Linked DNA regions of Homo sapiens: region 1 is linked to region 2. Evidence: promoter capture Hi-C in 16 types of primary human blood cells and fetal thymus (Javierre and others, 2016). All regions are on one chromosome and are shown on one strand. Each heading gives the region's core, a stretch centred on a gene start or on the middle of the fragment in contact. The rest is flanking DNA. Distances are from core to core; before and after follow the strand shown.

Region 1 (6,130 bases), core at 1,303-3,802, 1.5 Mb after region 2:
CGGTGTGGTGGCGCAGGCCTGTAATCCCAGCTACATGGGAGTCTGAGGCAGAAGAATCGCTTCAACCCTGGAGGCGGAGTTTGCAGTGAGCTGAAATCGTGTTATCACACTCCAGCCTGGGCAACAAGAGCGAAACTCAATCTCAAAAAAAAAAAAAAAGGAAAGAAAAAAGAAAAAATGCAAAATAAAAGTACACTGAGACATACTGTATGATTCAATCTATATATGACATTCTGGAAAAGGCAAACTCATTGGTACAGAGAACAGATTAGTGGCTGCCAGGGGCTAGGGGTAGGGAAAAGGGTTGATCACAAAGAGGTCAAACAAGGGTGTTTTTATGATGCTAGAGCTATTCTGTCCTTAATTGTGGTGGTGGTGACACAATTGTATGCATTTGTCAAAACGCATAGAACTGTACACCAAAAAGTGAATTTTACTATGTGTATGTTTTAAAAATAAAAATTTTAAAGTTTAAAAGGGATATCTTACCTATCATATTGGCAAAAATCCAAAAGCTTGACACTACATGCTATTAGCAAGGCTGTGGGGAGTCAGGCACCCTTTATATTAATACGTTGCTGGTGGGAAGGCAAAACGTTACAACATCTATAATTTGGCAATATCTAAAAAAACTACACATATATTTATCCTTTAATCCAGCAATCCCACTTCTAGTAACCTACCTTGGAGAGAGACATCCAGCAATATGAAAATATGTGTGCACAAAGTTATTCATTTCAGCATTATTGAAATTGAAATATTCTTGAAACTACCTAAATATTCCAACATAGGAGATTGACTGAATATACTATAGCACATATACACCACAGATTTTGCAGCTGTAAAAAAGGAATGAGGAAGACTTATGTAAAATGATAATGGATTTTTATGCTACATTTGTATAAAATAGAGAAATAAGAAAACATACAGGTATTTGCCTATTTTTGCAAAAGGAAACACACAAGATAAACCAGAAAGTAATGAAATCGGTTACCTATAGGAATTGGTGGAAATGGAATGCAACAGTTAGGGGAGGGAATGACACTTCTCTAAGTACACTAGTCTGTTTAGTTTTGACTTTTGGAATAATGTTAATATTTTCAATAGTCAAAATGTATAATCAAAGCATTTAGTTTTACACGATGAAAAAGTCTTAGAGATGAATAATGGTGATAGTTGCACAACAATGTGAATGCCATTAATGCCACTGAACTGTATGTATTTTATTTTTTTTGTTTTGGGACAGGTCTCAGGCTAGAGTGCAGTGGTGCGATCTTGGCTCACTGTAACCTCCGCCTCCCCGGTTCAAGCAAGTCTCATGCCTCAGCCTCCCGAGTAGCTGGGATTAGAAGCATGTGCCACCATGCCCAGCTAATTTTTTGTATATTAGTAGAGACGGGGTTTTGCCGTGTTGCCATTTCTTTTCTTTCTTTTTTTTCTTTTCTTTTCTTTTCTTTTTTTTTTTTGAGACGGAGTCTTGCTCTGTCACCAGGCTGGAGTGCAGTGGTGGTATCTTGGCTCACTGCAACCTCCGACTCCCTGGTTCAAGCGATTCTGCCGCCTCAGTCTACAGAGTAGCTGGGATTACAGGCACATGCCACCACGCCCAGCTAATTGTTGGTATTTTTAGTAGAGATGGGGTTTCACCATGTTGGCCAGGATGGTCTCGATCTCCTGACCTCGTGATCCGCCCACCTCGGCCTCCCAAAGTGCTGGGATTACAGGCGTGAGCCACCGCGCCAGGCCTAACAGCTTTCTTTTCTTTCTTTCTTTTTGAGACGTAGTCTCGCTCTGTCGCCCAGGCTGGAGTCCAGTGGCACGTTCTCGGCTCACTGCAACCTCCGCCTCCCGGGTTCAAGTGATTATTCTGCCTCAGCCTCCTGAGTAGCTGGGATGACAGGCGCGCGCCACCACGCCGGCTAATTTTTGTATTTTTAGTAGAGACGGGGTTTCACCATCTTGGCCAGGCTGGTCTCGAACTCCGACCTCGTGATCCGCCCACCTTGGCCTCTCAAAGTGCTGGGATTACAGGCGTGAGCCACCGCGCCCGGCCAATAGCTTTCCAAAGTTATTTTATCACGTATTTATCTACATATTACAGAAGTTTTTACTGTTCTTGCAACTTTTCTCTAAACTTGACGTTATTTGAAAACTAAAAGCTAAGCCAATTAGTATAGTAGTAATAGCAGACAAAAAAAATGAGAGAAGTAAAGGAAGTTTTGGGGGAACAGAAAGAAGAAAGAGCTAGTGTGGAGATACTAAACCGAAGCTTGTGGAACTTGAACGCCATTTTGAAGCTAGTTCCTTAGACGATTCGGTCGAAGATCTGTCTCTCGGCTGCCCTCTATAGAGCTCTAAACCTGGCTTCAAGGAGTTCTTTCATTCTTCATTAGATACCACCCACCATACGTCATTTTATAAAGCCGGAAACTACATTTCCCAAAAGGCCTTTATTTTTCCTCGCGGGAAAAGGGATTGCAATTACTATAGGTTTTACAGGTATCGCGAGATTTCGTCAAATCTCATTACGGATCCCGGCTGAAAGCCATTTTGTTTTTCAGCTCACTTCAAGGGTACCTGAAGCGAATTGGCACCAAAGCAGCAGCTGTATTGCCGCAGTTCTAGCTTCACCTTCACGATGTTTCCCTTGGTCAAAAGCGCACTAAATCGTCTCCAAGGTGAGCAAAAATTATGACAAATCATTTACAACAACCTTATATCAATGTGTCCTCGCGGCCTCTCGTGTGCTTTCCTTTTACGAACATCTCGGCCTTCTAATCTTGAATGCTGTCTGTCTCCCATCTCGTCCCAAGTCATTGGGATGATGTCCTTAGCATTGGCTTTATCACCCAGTATTTCTGTTTCGGTTTCCAGCTCTCTTTCTGTTATCGGAGTGATAGTCTAGCCCTGCTTTTTAATTCTTCAGTAACCTTTGATTTCAGGGAAGGACATTCTTGGTAGACACCTCGTTCCTTAAGTGATGTCCTACATTTTAGCTTTGGGGATATGTTTACTCCTAACCCTGTATAGAAAAATATCTTCTCCAATTCCTATTACTGTAATAGACGGAAACTGTAAATCTAGCTCTTCACCTGGTTTAATTGCAGGGAAACAACCCAAATGGTATCGATGCAGCTTTGAAGTTATTTGTGGATTAACAATGTTAGCTGGCCAGGCGCGGTGGCTCACACTTGTAATCCCAGCACTTTGGGAGGCCAAGGCGGGCGGATCCCCTGAGGTCAGGAGTTCGAGACCAGCCTGGCCAACATAGTGAAACGCCGTCCCTACTAAAAATACAAAAATTAGCCGGGCGTGGTGGTGGGCGCCTGTAATCCCAGCTACTTGGGAGGCTGAGGCAAGAGAATCGCTTGTACCCGGGAGGCGGAGGTTGCAGTGAGCCAAGACTGCTACTGCACTCCAGCCTGGGCAACAAGAGCGGGACTCCGTCTCGAAAACAAAAACAAAACAATGTTAGCTGTCCTGAAGGCAATCGTGGTCATTTTTTTCTTATCCAAAGGTTGGGCAGGTACAGGGAGTTTTGAGACCAGCATTATGTAGAGAAAATGCAATAGATTGAGGAGAACAAATTAATTTTCATACTTGATTTGCACCGAAGGTGACCTTGAGTAACGTGGGCAGTTGTTACACAATGAAGGTGACCCGTAATTACTATTTAGTTTGTTTAGCCATCTTTTGATTTTCACTTAATAGAATCATTGGAGGATATTATTAGATTGTGTCCTAAACTCTTAAGCAACTTTGAAAATAACCACAAAATATTAGCTGGACTATTTTCATATTCCCAAAGTAGCATTTATTATCTCTTTTACTTTGGGCATATGATTTAGCCTCTCTCAACCTCAGTTTCCTTCTTTGTAAAATAAGTAATTTGTAAATAATGCCTACTTCATGGGGTTGTTGAGGATTATATGAGATCACCAATGTGTGGTAATTAAACAGTTGTCACAGAGGAGAGGTCTGATGAAATCCACCAGAGTTACATGAGTGTGTTGAAGTTATGAGATGTTGCAGAATTTTTTGGTAGTCTTAATTTCTTTGCTCTTTGAGCAAATAGGGCCACCTTGTACCTCAGGAAAGGTTTTTTGTTTTTTTTTCAGCGTGGAATTCACATGCCCACTTTTTATCTTTTCTGGAGCAGAATATATTATGAAATATTTGTAAATTTGCCTATCCCGGTGTGACTAAAAGATGAAAAGGGAAAGCTATGTAAGACAGTTAGAAGATCTGATAATGGTCTAATAACTATCATGAAGTAACCCATTGTACCATGTAGAAATATTCATTGCTAGTGAATGGGCAACATTGCAGTTTCTTTTTTTTTTTTTTGAGACAAAGTTTCGCTCTTGTTGCCCAGGCTGGAGTGCAGTGGCTCAATCTTGGTTCACTGCAATCTCCGTCTCCTAGGTTCAAGTGATTCTCCTGCCTCAGGCTCCCTAGCTTTTCATTATATATGTAAGTACCTTTGGAGGCTCTTTAAAACGATAAGAACCTGCCCCTTAAATTGGACAGGAAGAAAAAAAAAAACAGCTAGAAACAAGCTTTTTCCAGTCTCGGCTGTTTCCCAAGCCCTCCTTTTTAGTTCTTCCAGGGGCCGTTTGAAAACTTTTGTTCTTCTCTTTCTACTGGTATAATACTAACAGCAAACTTTATCATTCTGCTCAAAAACTAAGTCCTTAGCTAATTCTGCTTCCTTGTACGATACTGATTTTTATCTACATGTGTAATCCTCTAGACTGGAAGTTACTTGAGGACAGGATCTCTGTCTTATACTTTTTTATATACCCCATTTCTCATTTTTTATTTTTAGGGACAGAGAATTGCTCTGTTACCCAGGCTGGAGTGTAGTGGTGTGATCATAGCTCACTGCATCCTCTAACTCCTGGACTCAAGTGATCGTCCGGCCACAGCCTCCTGAGTAGCTGGGACTACAGGTGTGCATGCACCACCATGCCCGGCTAATTTTTAATTTTCAATTTTTTTGTAGAGACAGGGTCTCACTATGTTTCACAGACTGGTCTGAAACTCCTGGCCTCAAGCGATCCTCCTACCTTGGCCTCCGAAAGTATTGGGATTACAGATGTGAGCCACTGTGCCTGGCCCATTAATTTTTTAAAAATCAAGATTACTCTAGTTGTGGCGAGTTTTTTTGTTACTGTAGTAATTTTACAGTCATAAGCATTTAGTGTGCTTTAATTTGAAGTTCATTTGAGTTCATTTGCCCTTGTATGTTGTAAGTTGTTGGGCTCTATTGAGTAAACTTTAATGAAAATTTAAGTCATAAGTATTCAAATTAATCAATGGGAGCCAAAATTTCAGGGGTTATGCAAATACCACTTTGTAGAGAATGTTACTGACATCATTCATTCTTTGCTTTTTTCCCCCAACACTATTATGAAAACTCTCAGACATACTGAAGAGTTGGAAGAATCGTATGAACACCCATATACCCACCACAAAGATTCTACAGTTAACATTTTGCTATTTGTTTTATCATGTATTTGTCCATCTGTCAATTCATCTTATTTTTGTTGCATTTCAAAGTACACTGCTTTAATAGCTACAATATGTTTTAACATTTTATTGAACTACATAATACTGTAAAATTAACTTCCTTGGCTTTCCTGATTGGCAGTATCAATCACATATGTTTTCTTTACCTGACAATTGATAATATGCTTCTGTATTCTTTTTTCGTTTTCCTGTAAGTTCGAAGCATTCAGCAAACAATGGCAAGGCAGAGCCACCAGAAACGTACACCTGATTTTCATGACAAATACGGTAATGCTGTATTAGCTAGTGGAGCCACTTTCTGTATTGTTACATGGACATATGTAAGTACTATTGATTAATAATTTCTGTTTCAGATGTTTTTCATTCTCAGTCTATGCATTCAAAGTGTCTTAACATAGTAGTGTACATATCTAGTTAGGAGGGACTTGAGAGATTGTGTAATCTAATTACCCACACAGTGCAGGGGATTTTTTCCCCCCAGCATTCATCCATCTTCTGTTCTTAACATTCCCAGTAATAAATTGCTTACTGGATCACAAGGCAGCCCTTTCCATCTTGTGTAGCTGTTTTTTTTGTTTTTGTTTTTTTTTTTTTTTAA
Region 2 (6,902 bases), core at 2,774-5,273:
TGCTCCTTTTTCTAATCGATTCCCCTGGCTTTCCTCCATTACGTGGGCAGATTGGCTATGAAAGGGTTTTGAAATCCTTGTTTGTACCCTTATAGGATTCTGTCTCCTTTATTTCTGGCAAGAAACTTAGGCACTGCAAAATAACATACAATTTTAATTATAAGACAACATTGGGCCAGGGGATGGACTGTTATATGCATGAGCCAAAGATAGTCTCTATATATTGATTCTGCCAGTACCAAACTCAATTTTTTACACATCAATTGTTTTAAATATAGACCAATAAGTAGATTGTTAGCCATTTAGAGGCTGCCTTCTTTGCATGTCCCTGTGAAACTACAATCATCTGTTAGCTATAGATAGGATAAACTCCAGGAGATAAAAACCCTAACCTACTGCTGCCCTTCAGAGATCTCTGACCCAGCAACTCCCTGTCTTGCTGCTGAGAGACATCGCTACATGTATAAGCCATCTCTTTGATTCCCCTCCCTCTCTCCAGTTAGCTTGTCCTCTCATTTTCTAGGTTGTGACCTCCCACCAGCCTCTGGAAGATCTCAGACTTTGATTAACCCCATGCCCTTGCAAACCTGTCAAAGGGTTGACCAAATGAAACTCGTATGCTTATACACTGTTGGTGGGAATGTAAATTAGTAATAATAAACACTATATATAGTTCAACCACTATAGAAAGCAGTTTGGAGATTTCTCAAAGAACATAAAACACAACTACCATTCAATTCAGTAATCACATTATCGGGCATATATCCAGAAGAAAAGAAATCATTCAACCAAAAAGACACATACACTCATAGTTGTTTGCAGCCTTATTAACAAGAGCAATGACATGGAGTCAACTTAGGTGTCTATCACTGATATTTGCTAAAGAAAATGTGGTACATATATACCATGGAATACAACACAGCCATAAAAACTAATGAAATAATGTCCTTTGCAGCAACATGGATGCAGCTGAAGGCCATTATCCTAAGCGAATTTACACAGAAACAGAAAACCAAATACCATATGTTCTCATTTATAAGTTGGAGCTAAAGATTGGGTACTCATCAACATAAAGGTGGCAAAAACAGACACTGGAGGACTATTAGAAGGGGGAAGAAGAAAGGGGGTCATGGGTTGAAAAACTGTTGAGTATTATGCTCACTACCTGGGTGATGAGATCATCTGTTTTCCAAACCTCAGCATCATGCAATATACCCATATAACAAACCTGTGTATGTATCCCCAGAATCTAAAATAAAAGTTGAAATTCTAAAACAGACAAACAACAAAAACTCATTGTGTGTTACTGAAAACGTGTGGTAGTATATATTTTTCTTGATCAGTCCCCAAATCTCTTGCACTCACTTGTTTCCTATATTTTAATTCTACATATAAATTACACAAAACATATTATTATTATTGTTTTACATTGTCAATATGTCTGTTTACCCACATATTTATCCTTTCTATTACTGTTCGCTTCTTGCATCTCTTCAGTTTCAGAGGAGAACCTTTCAGTATTTCCTCAGTGTGGGTGTACTGGTGATCAATTTACTCAGCACTGATTTCTGAACATGTATTTATTTTGCCTTCATTTTTGATGTACTATTTCAGTAAGTTCAGAATTCCAAATTATCAGCTTACAAATCATTAAATTCCTTAAGTGACAAACTTGTATACAATGTAAGACTCACCTCTTTGCACTTCCCTTTTTTCTGAGATCATTACTCTTGAAGTCCTCATTGCCTTTATAGGTTTCTGATGCTATATTGGTAGCCTTTGTTGCCATAAAAGGGTTTCTTTACCTAAATTTCTGGGGTTTTTTTTCCGCAGGGCTGCTGCAATCAACTATACATTATTAGAAATGGAATTCTTTGATATCATTATAATGACTTACTGGTATTCCATTTTTAGTACCATAATTTCTTCAAATACTCTTTAGTTATTTAACATTCATTTAGTTTTCAGCTCTGTTATACTAGAACAAATTATATAATAAAAGTTATTTTAGCTAAATATTTGCACATATATCTTATTATTTCTTTAGAATATATTTCTAGAGGTAAAAATTTTTAGTTTATAGGTTTGAACAACTTCAGGGTCTTTAAAAATCACTGTACCCTAGGTTAGGAATATCTGTTGCTAAAGCTTAGAAATATCTTAGGTTTTTTTGTGCCTCCCATTCTGAATAGGCCCCAGGCATAAAAACTGCATTGGACTTCACAGAACCGAAACTGGTTATTCATATAAGGGATTGCTTCTCCAATTGGAGACAGAGATGGTGACACATTGTGACTGTAGCCAGTTATTTTCCCTTTCCTAAAGACGTATTAAAAAAAAGTATTGGAACCAACCCAAATGCCCATCAATGACAGACTGGATAAAGAAAACATGGCACATATACACCATGGAATACTATGCAATAAAAAAGGATGAGTTCATGTCCTTTGCAGGGGCATGGATGAAGCTGGAAACCATCATTCTCAGAAAATTAACACAAGAACAGGAAACCAAACACCACACGTTCTCACTCATAAGTGGGAATTGAACAATTACAACACATGGACACAGGGAGGGGAACATCACACACCAGGGCCTGTCAAGAGGTGGGGAGATAGGGGAGGGATAGCATTAGGAGAAATACCTAATGTAGATGATGGGTTGATGGGTGCAGCAAACCACCATGGCACGTGTATACCTAGGTAACAAATCTGCACATTCTGCACATGTACCCCAAAACTTAAAGTATAAAAAAAAAGAAAAAAAGACAAAAGTATACTCCCAGATTTTTGAGAAGATATAAAGAAAGACAACATATAATAAATGTTTGCAGCAAGATATAAACATATCAATAAAGGGTCAATAGTGGTAAGCTGAATTGTAGTGGTTGTGTGAGTGTCAGAAAGTTAGTGTTTTCCCTCTATCTCTCTTCCTCTCTCTCTCTCCCCTACTTCTAAAAACAGCCTGCCCGTCCTCTTCAGTGTTTTCTTTCTTACTCACTGCTGCCGTGCTACTCTCAGTTGGAATGATTTTCTCATCCTTGTCCTTTTGGTAAATATCTACCCACTCATCTTTTTAAACATCTCCTCTTTTATGAAGCCTTTTCTGCATCTACAGGTAGAACTGACCCTGCCATCCCCTGCATTCTTTACAAACTTCTAGAAAATTTAGCTTTACTTTTTCTCTGACTCCCATTTTTACATCGGGTGCTCCTTGATGACAAAGAGATTAACTGTAACTTCGGGATAGATGACCAGTGTTTGTTGAGTGAATGAATAAAGGGATCAGGGTTGGATCTGCTCAAAAGTGCTAGAGTAATAGAGCAAAACAGAGCAGGTAACACATCCCTTAACACTCGGTATCTCAACTGACTTTCACAAAAGCTCTATTAAATGAGCAGGTGATTGTGGAGTGAAAGAATTAAACAAATTTTCAAGAGTTTTAGTGGCTTTCCCACTAAAGCCTGGGTGACTGGGAAAGTTTGGGCTGGGAATGTTGGGCTTTTCAAGCGTGTTCGAAGCTCCCTAATTGGTACTAAATTTCAGGCATTCAGACCCTCTAGGAAAGAGTTCTTTCTAGCTCACAACATTAGGGGAGGAGTTAGACACATAAATGGAGAAAGTGATAGAAGAGACATGGTCAGGGATGGGGGTTCTACCCTTCCAGAGACAATGCACATTTTCTTTGAAACAGCTTCGGGAAAACTGCAAATCTCAATGATATTTACCAATTTTGAGAATCTATTAAGTGCCTGGCACTCTGTGTAGAAGCCCTCCAATCGTACCCTAAATCTGAGAAGTATTTATTATTATTTCCATTTTTACTCCCTAATGCATCTACTCTAAGCTCCTTGCTTCACCCTACCAAAGTTTCCCTTCTGCTAGTGCTCTCCTTTGGTGCAGAACCACCGCATCCACTTTCTCAGGCCCAGGGGAGGGGCGGGGCGGGGCGATTTCGCCTTGCCGCAGAGCCAGTCTGCGCCTGCGCGGACTGCGGCAGAGGGCGGGGTGTGAGAAGCAGAGTACAGTGAGACTAGCATTCACTGCTGGCCAGTGCCTGCCTTTTTCACCACCTCTAATTTCAGCTTCAGCAGTTGCTTGGAACTTTGGTTCTGGCAGCAGCAGCAACATCATTACCGCTAGCGGCAGTTTTGTGCCGAGGCACCTACACACCTCCCGTCCTCTCTGCCAGATCGCGGGCCTGTCGGTGTCTGCTCCTACACGCCAACGCCGGTGGGCAGGACCATGTCTCTGGTAAGCCAGAATTCGCGCCGCCGCCGCCGCCGCGTTGCAAAGGCTACTGCGCACAACAGCAGCTGGGGCGAAATGCAGGCCCCTAATGCCCCCGGTCTCCCCGCTGATGTGCCAGGCTCAGACGTCCCCCAGGGTCCCAGCGATTCCCAGATCCTCCAGGGCCTCTGCGCCTCTGAGGGCCCAAGCACCTCCGTTCTGCCCACCTCCGCTGAGGGCCCAAGCACCTTTGTGCCGCCCACCATCTCTGAGGCCTCAAGCGCCTCCGGGCAGCCCACCATCTCTGAGGGACCTGGCACCTCCGTGCTGCCCACCCCCAGTGAGGGCCTAAGCACCTCCGGGCCTCCCACCATCTCTAAGGGGCTGTGCACCTCTGTGACGCTTGCCGCCTCTGAGGGCCGGAACACCTCCAGGCCGCCCACTTCCTCTGAGGAACCTAGCACCTCCGTGCCGCCCACCGCCTCTGAGGTACCGAGCACCTCCCTGCCGCCCACCCCTGGTGAGGGAACGAGCACCTCCGTGCCGCCCACAGCCTATGAGGGACCAAGCACCTCCGTGGTGCCCACCCCTGATGAGGGACCAAGCACCTCCGTGCTGCCTACACCTGGTGAGGGACCAGGCACCTCCGTGCCGCTCGCCGCCACTGAGGGCCTGAGCACCTCCGTGCAGGCCACTCCTGATGAGGGACCGAGCACCTCCGTGCCGCCCACCGCCACTGAGGGCCTAAGCACCCCCGTGCCACCCACCCGTGATGAGGGACCGAGCACCTCCGTGCCGGCCACTCCTGGTGAGGGACCGAGCACCTCCGTGCTGCCCGCCGCCTCTGACGGACAAAGCATCTCCTTGGTGCCCACCCGCGGTAAGGGATCAAGCACCTCCGTGCCCCCCACCGCCACCGAGGGCCTGAGCACCTCCGTGCAGCCCACTGCTGGTGAGGGATCGAGCACCTCCGTGCCGCCCACCCCTGGTGGGGGACTGAGCACCTCCGTGCCGCCCACCGCCACTGAGGAGTTGAGCACCTCCGTGCCGCCCACTCCCGGTGAGGGACCAAGCACTTCCGTACTGCCAATCCCCGGTGAGGGACTGAGCACCTCTGTGCCGCCCACCGCCTCTGATGGATCGGACACCTCCGTGCCGCCCACTCCTGGTGAGGGCGCAAGCACCTTAGTGCAGCCCACCGCCCCTGACGGACCGGGAAGCTCCGTGCTGCCTAACCCTGGTGAGGGCCCGAGCACATTGTTTAGCTCTAGTGCTTCTGTGGACCGGAACCCCTCCAAGTGTTCCCTTGTTTTGCCAAGCCCTAGGGTAACCAAGGCCTCCGTGGACTCAGATTCTGAGGGTCCTAAGGGTGCAGAAGGCCCTATAGAATTCGAGGTCCTGAGAGACTGTGAGAGCCCCAACTCCATTAGTATTATGGGCCTCAATACTTCCCGGGTTGCAATTACCCTGAAGCCCCAAGACCCTATGGAACAGAACGTAGCTGAGCTGTTGCAGTTCCTGCTGGTGAAGGATCAGAGCAAGTACCCTATCCGGGAGTCTGAAATGCGGGAATATATTGTTAAAGAATATCGCAACCAGTTTCCTGAGATACTCAGGCGAGCAGCAGCCCACCTGGAGTGCATTTTTAGGTTTGAATTGAGAGAACTTGACCCTGAGGCACACACCTACATTCTGTTAAACAAACTGGGACCTGTGCCCTTTGAAGGGTTAGAAGAGAGCCCAAATGGGCCAAAGATGGGCCTCCTGATGATGATTCTAGGCCAAATATTCCTGAATGGCAACCAAGCCAAGGAGGCTGAGATTTGGGAAATGCTCTGGAGGATGGGGGTGCAGCGGGAAAGGAGGCTTTCCATTTTTGGGAACCCAAAGAGACTTCTGTCTGTGGAGTTTGTATGGCAGCGTTACTTAGACTACAGGCCAGTAACTGACTGTAAACCAGTGGAGTATGAGTTTTTCTGGGGCCCAAGATCCCACCTAGAAACCACCAAGATGAAAATTCTGAAGTTCATGGCGAAAATATATAACAAAGATCCTATGGATTGGCCAGAGAAATACAACGAAGCTCTGGAAGAAGATGCTGCCAGAGCCTTTGCTGAGGGTTGGCAGGCTCTCCCTCACTTTAGGAGGCCCTTTTTTGAGGAAGCTGCTGCAGAGGTACCATCCCCTGATTCAGAGGTTTCCAGCTATTCCTCAAAATATGCCCCACATTCATGGCCTGAGTCAAGATTGGAGAGCAAGGCAAGGAAGCTGGTGCAGTTATTTCTGCTTATGGATTCAACTAAGCTGCCTATACCAAAGAAAGGAATTCTGTACTACATTGGCCGAGAGTGCAGCAAAGTGTTCCCTGACCTCCTGAATCGTGCTGCCCGCACCCTGAACCATGTCTATGGGACAGAACTAGTGGTACTTGATCCCAGGAATCACTCCTATACTCTGTACAACCGAAGGGAGATGGAAGAAACTGAGGAGATCGTAGACAGTCCAAACAGGCCTGGCAACAACTTTTTGATGCAGGTCCTAAGCTTCATCTTTATTATGGGCAACCATGCCAGGGAGTCTGCAGTCTGGGCCTTTCTGCGGGGCTTAGGGGTTCAAGCTGGGAGAAAGCATGTGATTACCTGCAGATACTTGAGTCAGCGCTATATAGACAGT

Evidence for each region. The method cuts DNA at HindIII sites, captures the fragments that hold promoters and counts their contacts. A CHiCAGO score of 5 or more calls a contact.
Region 1: a contact is called between the fragment with the promoter of COX7B here and the fragment with the promoter of MAGEE1 in region 2, in 2 of 17 cell types (fetal thymus and non-activated CD4 T cells). The highest score is 7.2, in fetal thymus.

Annotation. Positions count from the first base shown.
Region 1 is chrX:77,896,916-77,903,045 of GRCh38, forward strand. It overlaps COX7B (cytochrome c oxidase subunit 7B), which reads left to right and starts at 2,553. Exons shown (of 3, transcript NM_001866.3): 1 at 2,553-2,678; 2 at 5,728-5,852. The coding sequence starts at 2,639. RefSeq lists an enhancer at 2,507-2,756. The HindIII fragment of the contact is 2,290 bases long and covers 2,268-4,557 here.
Region 2 is chrX:76,423,687-76,430,588 of GRCh38, forward strand. It overlaps MAGEE1 (MAGE family member E1), which reads left to right and starts at 4,024. Exons shown (of 1, transcript NM_020932.3): 1 at 4,024-6,902. The coding sequence starts at 4,245. RefSeq lists enhancers at 4,072-4,281, 4,752-4,881. The HindIII fragment of the contact is 4,624 bases long and covers 2,147-6,770 here.